Linked DNA regions of Homo sapiens: region 1 is linked to region 2. Evidence: promoter capture Hi-C in 16 types of primary human blood cells and fetal thymus (Javierre and others, 2016). All regions are on one chromosome and are shown on one strand. Each heading gives the region's core, a stretch centred on a gene start or on the middle of the fragment in contact. The rest is flanking DNA. Distances are from core to core; before and after follow the strand shown.

Region 1 (2,782 bases), core at 4-2,503, 690 kb before region 2:
GGTCATCAAAGTAACAATGAAACACATACCTTGCAAGTTTATATAAACCTCGCTGAGTGGTGAGGGGCGGAATGCTGTTGGGGCTGGCCAGCAAGATCTCACTACAGCACAGCGTTAGCAACCATGCACAGGCTGACAAGAATAAGGAGAGAGGAACTGCTGGGCGAGCATGACTCCCAGAAGACAGATGGAGGGGCTATTAGACACAATTAAGCCAAGTCTCAGAGAGGCTAAAATGAGGTATTTAAGACTGTATAGTCTGATGACACACCACTCATTAGTCACCCAGTTTAGTAACAGTCCTTCTAATATGCCATATTTTCTCTTAAACAGTTGTTAAAGCAAGGGACAGGGTGGTTGGTCTTCCTGGGTTGAAGGCTTACTATATGCAAGATGAATTTGAGGTACTGGGCGTACATTACCTCTGTAGTAAAGGTGTGTGGATATTAACTTTTCTTAAAATTTAAATTATATTTTCAGTGTCCTAAAGAAAAAATTCTACCATCAGCTCTCCTGGAAAGCGAGAAATTGGGTTATAAAGCAAATGTTCTACTCCTTATCCCAATTTACCTTCCATAGTCTTAAAGCCAAAACCTCAGGTACTGGTCATATCCTGGCATGAAAAATAATTAGATTGCACTTACATAAAGGAGGTTATGAACTGAGCCTTTTCAGACTCCAAAATGTTCTAGACAAAAGCAAACAAGCTAAGGATTTGTTCCCTATCAAGAAAATTGTTCATCTATATCCCCTCTCATTTCCTCAATATTTTGACCTTACCCCAGCTGGTTAGCCAGCCCCACAATCCATTTAGACTTTAGAACAGAAATAAAATGCATACATACATACTGTAGCTGTAATTCAATTAATCTTCTCCTTGGGTTTCCTCTGCTCTGTGCCAGGGTCATTTGTAAGGCCATCACTCAGTCCAAACTGTTGCACCTGTGCTGCTATTGAAACACCCCTTCCTCCCTTTCACCCCTCCCTCGCCTCTATCCTCCCAGGCACAGTGCCCTAATCACCTTTTTCCCAGGCACAAAAGCTTTCCTTTGCAAGAAGGAATGTCAGAATTCCCCCAAGCATTGGCAAGGAAATATTTAAATGTAATCAGAGGATCTTCCTTTGTTTTCTTTTTTTTTCCTGGGGAAATTAATCTCTCTAAGGTACTGGATGTATTCTTTTGCTCTTCCGTGAGGCAACATCATCATACAGTGCTGAAGTGGTCACAGCTTGCAAAGGCTAAATATTTTCTTCTCCTTTGCTGCTGACATAGATGATACGTGCCTGGTTTCCTCAAGCATCTCTAATTGAATACTTTGCTTCATTTAAATTGTTTTAAACTTGGCTGTGAGAAATGTGTGTATGTATGTCCCATCCCTCCCCCACGTAGAATATGAATGCAGACTGGCAGCTGTGGCTCCCCTAATAGCTGCCCTCTCCCAGCTGTAGTCCCTTCAACTCTATCAAGCTTGAGAAACTTTCCAGTCCAGTTCTCTCCAGTCATTGCCAGACTTTGAGTTTCATATAGTTCCTAGGAGAAAAGCTAGACTCTGTTATATAGCTTTATAAGTTGGAAGAGCTTTTAAAGTCAAACTAGTCTTACTTAAATCTCTGCTCCACCACTTGCAGCTGTGTGAGCTTAGACAAATTACTTGACCTCTCTGAACTTCAGTTTTATTATTTGTGGTAGGACAAAACCAACTGCATAGGGCTGCTGTGAGCATGAAATGGGATTTTATACATATATATATTCTAGTATAATCCCTGGCACATACTTGTTTTAAGCATTTTTTTTATTTTCTATATTTTATGATGTTCTAATATCTCAGAAAGCTTGCTGGCCAGGGAGAGACTTCACCTCCCAGGAGTAGCCAATTCTTATACAAAACAGGGGTCTCCAGGGAGCACCAACCAATCCCGAGTCTACAGCCTCAACCATTTCCTTGTCTAGCTCTCACACATAAAGCCAATATTTCCACACCCCTGAATAACTCTAGGGAACAGATCTATGCAACTAAAGACCACCTCTATGCCCCAAAGCCCCCTAGAATTATTGAAACTGCCAACCTTAAGCTCTTCGCCCTGCCCTGCCTTGCCTTTCCTGCAGAAACCCCAATAAAGGCTCTAGCCTCAGCTTTCCCCTCGCTCCCACTTCTGCTTCCTGGCACTGGAACCTCCTCCATGGTCCTGAGTTGCATGCCTTGCCTCTCATTTCCTGGGGAGCTGTGAGCAGCAGTGAGCCTTTCTTTTAATGGCATTACCTCTCTGTGTCGTCACACAGTCATACCTCTCTCAGTTACACTGCGGGTATAATTTTAGAACAGTATTTAATGAATGTGAACATCTCCCCTTCCCATATTGTCATTTAACGATTCCTGAGTGTCCATAAGTTGTAATTAGATATAGTGGACACAAACACAGAGAATTTCACTCCATTGCTATCAAACCAACAAGATGTAGACAGACCTGAAGGCTTGTTAGGTAAAGCTCTGCGGCAGTGGTTCTCAGGCTTTAGCTGGCATCAGAGTCACCAGGAGAGTTGTGAAAACCCGGATTACTGGACCCAACATCCAGTTTCTGATTCAGGAGGTCTGCGTTGGCCTTCCAGAATTTGGATTTGTAAGAAGTTCCCAGGTGCTATTGCTACTGGCTCAGGGACCATATTTTGAGAACCATAGCTTTAGAGGATGTGAAAATGAGCAGTTTGGGGAAAATAACTGGCGTGATAGGATAAACAAATATCTCAAGTTGAATAGAATCAAAGTTTTGGAGTTTGGGGGAA
Region 2 (2,836 bases), core at 249-2,748:
CACAGGCAGAGTCAACATTGGAACTCGGAACACTGAGCCTGGCATTCCAAGTTCCCAAAACCTTGAGGCTCTTGCTAATCCCAGCAGAATTTTCTTCTTTACAGGGCTGTGCTTCTTTGAGGCCTCTGAGACTAGAATGTTAGTGTCCAAAGCTTTCTCTTTCAAAAGTAGTCAATAGTCAGAAATAAATGTTGGCCTGCAAGTTCAATCTTTTTCTTTTTTTTGAGACAGGGTCTCACTCAGTTGCCCAGGTTGGAGTGCAGTAGCACAATCATGGCTTACTGCAGCCTTGACCTCCTGGGCTCAAGCGATCCTCCTGCTTCAGCCTTCCAAATAGTTGGGACCACAGGCATACCCCACCACACCCAGCTAATTTTTAAAATTTTGTAGACATGATGGTCTCACTTTGTTGCCCAAGTTGGTCTCAAAGTCCTGAGTTCAAGGGATCCTCCCACCTTGGCCTCCCAAAGTGCTGAAATTACAGGTATGAGCCACCGCTTCTAGTCCATCTTCACTTTTTAAAAGGCATAGCTAAACTGCATTGATACAACCTAATGATCTCCCTAATTAATGTAACTTTGCTGGTAATTGTTTTTTTAGAGTCCTCTGTTTAAGATTGGGTTAAATTCAAATCAAATGGTACTGTTTAAACTGTTTGCTGTTTTTTGTGTTTGTTCCCCGTTAGTGCTATCTTGGACATGCTGAGCTTCTAACTGCCACAGGGCTGTTTTGCTACTACTGACCTTATAAAGCCAACAGTTAGTGACTGTGTATATAAGGATTTAAGAGATTATTTTACCAGAATAAGGTTGCTTTGTAGCCATCCGGTGTAAATGGTGTTTCTTTCCATTAACAAATTGAAGAGCTCTTAAGCACCTGAAATTAAATAACAGCTTAAAAAATAAATTAATATACAAAAAATTTAGGTTTACTGACAATATCAGATTATTTCCCATTAAAAAAAATCACCCAACTCTTTTTTCTGATGCCTTTCACGTGGGACTTCAAAAAGCTTTTCCAAATATTTTCACTATCTGTAGTTCTCATTCTAATTTTGTAAATTAAAAAAAAAAAAGAGCCAAATAACTGACCCAAAGTTATGCAGTCAGTTGGTAGTAAAAGCCAAATAAGAGCTCAAATTTAATCTAGTCGTTAGAATCTGCCACAGTGTCCTCTTCGCTAAGTTGTACTACTGCCTCATTTTATTTCCCTTAAAAAATAATTGTTTGCATATCAGTTAAACTGGTCACATTGAAATATAAAACACGCCAGTATTATCAAGAGGTCCTTTCTTAAAGCAACAAAATACAATCACCTTTGTGCTAAAAATAAGCTATAAAAATAATTGTGTACCTTATAAATTTATCTACAAGTTTTAGCCTTCATTATATTCATTAATTAAACTGCCATAAATCTTCCTTTCCTATTGCTAAGATATTCTTAAACTTGCATACAAAGCACCAAAATGCACATCAGCCACAACACACACAAATTCATCACTCAATCTCGGTCCATTACTCTTGCCAAGGTCAGTATAGAATATTCTTGAAATTTTCACTTGTAGAATGAATAGATGTTTTGTAAGGATTATCTATTCAGGCAGAAAAAAAGGGGGGAGGGGAAGAACACAAGAAACAATTAGCTATTCAACTGGTACTGAGCAAATTCCAAGTACGGAATCCTTTGTTTGTTTTTATCTTGTTTTTGTTTTTCTTACCTACCTTGGGACTCCAGTCCACGAGAAGAAATACATCTTGTGAGATTTTTGTACAGCCTTTCTACAAACCTCCGTAGAGAAGGAGACGTTGTTGTCAGTTTTGGCTTCCTTTTGCAGTCAGGGACTGGGACCCAGAGTTATCTATTTGCATTTCAACACCCTTCTTTTGTTTTCGGTCCCACAAGAGGCTCAACCAGTTCAAAAGCAGGTAAGGCAGTTAGATCATTGTAATGACCCTAGAAAACTCAAAGGAGAAAACTTTTGCAAACAATGTGGTTATTTTAGCAAAAAACTACTACTTATTTCATCAGTCAAGCCTACAGAGCTCAAGCTAGACCATCTTGTTAAAAATTTACCTTAGGTTGTTCTTAATTCTCTCTGTGCCCTAGAGAGAGAAGAATGATGGTGGAAAGCAGGGTTAGAGAACAGAGAGGAGGAGAGTTCTGCATCCAGAATCTCTTCTGAATAAACAAATATCGCTAAAATATCCAAATATTCACAGGAATTTACAGGTCACATTATTGCATTTGATTCTGAGAGCAACAGCCTCTGTCATTTCTGCTGAAGGAGCATTCCTATATAACTCTAACAAAATTAAGAGAAAAGAATACTTTCTAGGTGGAGAGAGTTGGAGAGGACGGGTAAAGGTGCAGCCATCCCAGTGTCTGAAGGACACTCAGACACAAATGCTGCTGGTGTATACTTCCTGTCACACCCACTCAGATGACTACATGGTCAAGATTCCAGAATGTGATCCCGACGACAGCTTTCTAAGCATTTAATATTCCAAGAGGCATCAGCAGATAAAAATGTGCAGAGTTGCAAATTTTTAATAGAAAAATCCCCCAGGGTCTATGTTGAAGGTCAGTGTTTGGGAAAAGGCTATATTATAATGGGGCTATGGAGTCACAGATTAGAGACGGAAGGGACCATAAGGTTCATTTCCTCAAGGTCCGTGGTTACACAGCTGGTTTGTGACAGGCTATGAGCTCTCTGGGGTCTCAATCTCACGCTCTTGAGCTTTTGGTTACCAAACCTGCTTAGATGAGATCCACAGTGAGGTTATATTGTAAAAATTCTAAGACTTGGCAAGTCAGCCTATAATGAAGATATATATGC

What was found. The method cuts DNA at HindIII sites, captures the fragments that hold promoters and counts their contacts. A CHiCAGO score of 5 or more calls a contact.
Region 1: a fragment that was not itself captured here is called in contact with the fragment with the promoter of LINC00862 in region 2 in 1 of 17 cell types (naive B cells); the score reaches 6.5 in naive B cells.

What each region holds. Positions count from the first base shown.
Region 1 is chr1:199,687,331-199,690,112 of GRCh38, forward strand. No RefSeq gene overlaps it. Among named protein-coding and RNA genes, the nearest start is that of NR5A2, 340 kb to the right of the region's middle. The HindIII fragment of the contact is 426 bases long and covers 1,041-1,466 here.
Region 2 is chr1:200,372,294-200,375,129 of GRCh38, forward strand. LINC00862 (long intergenic non-protein coding RNA 862) reads right to left here and starts at 1,499. Exons shown (of 5, transcript NR_040064.1): 1 at 1,354-1,499; 2 at 800-876. RefSeq lists enhancers at 1-383, 1,780-2,836. The HindIII fragment of the contact is 2,511 bases long and covers 1,011-2,836 here.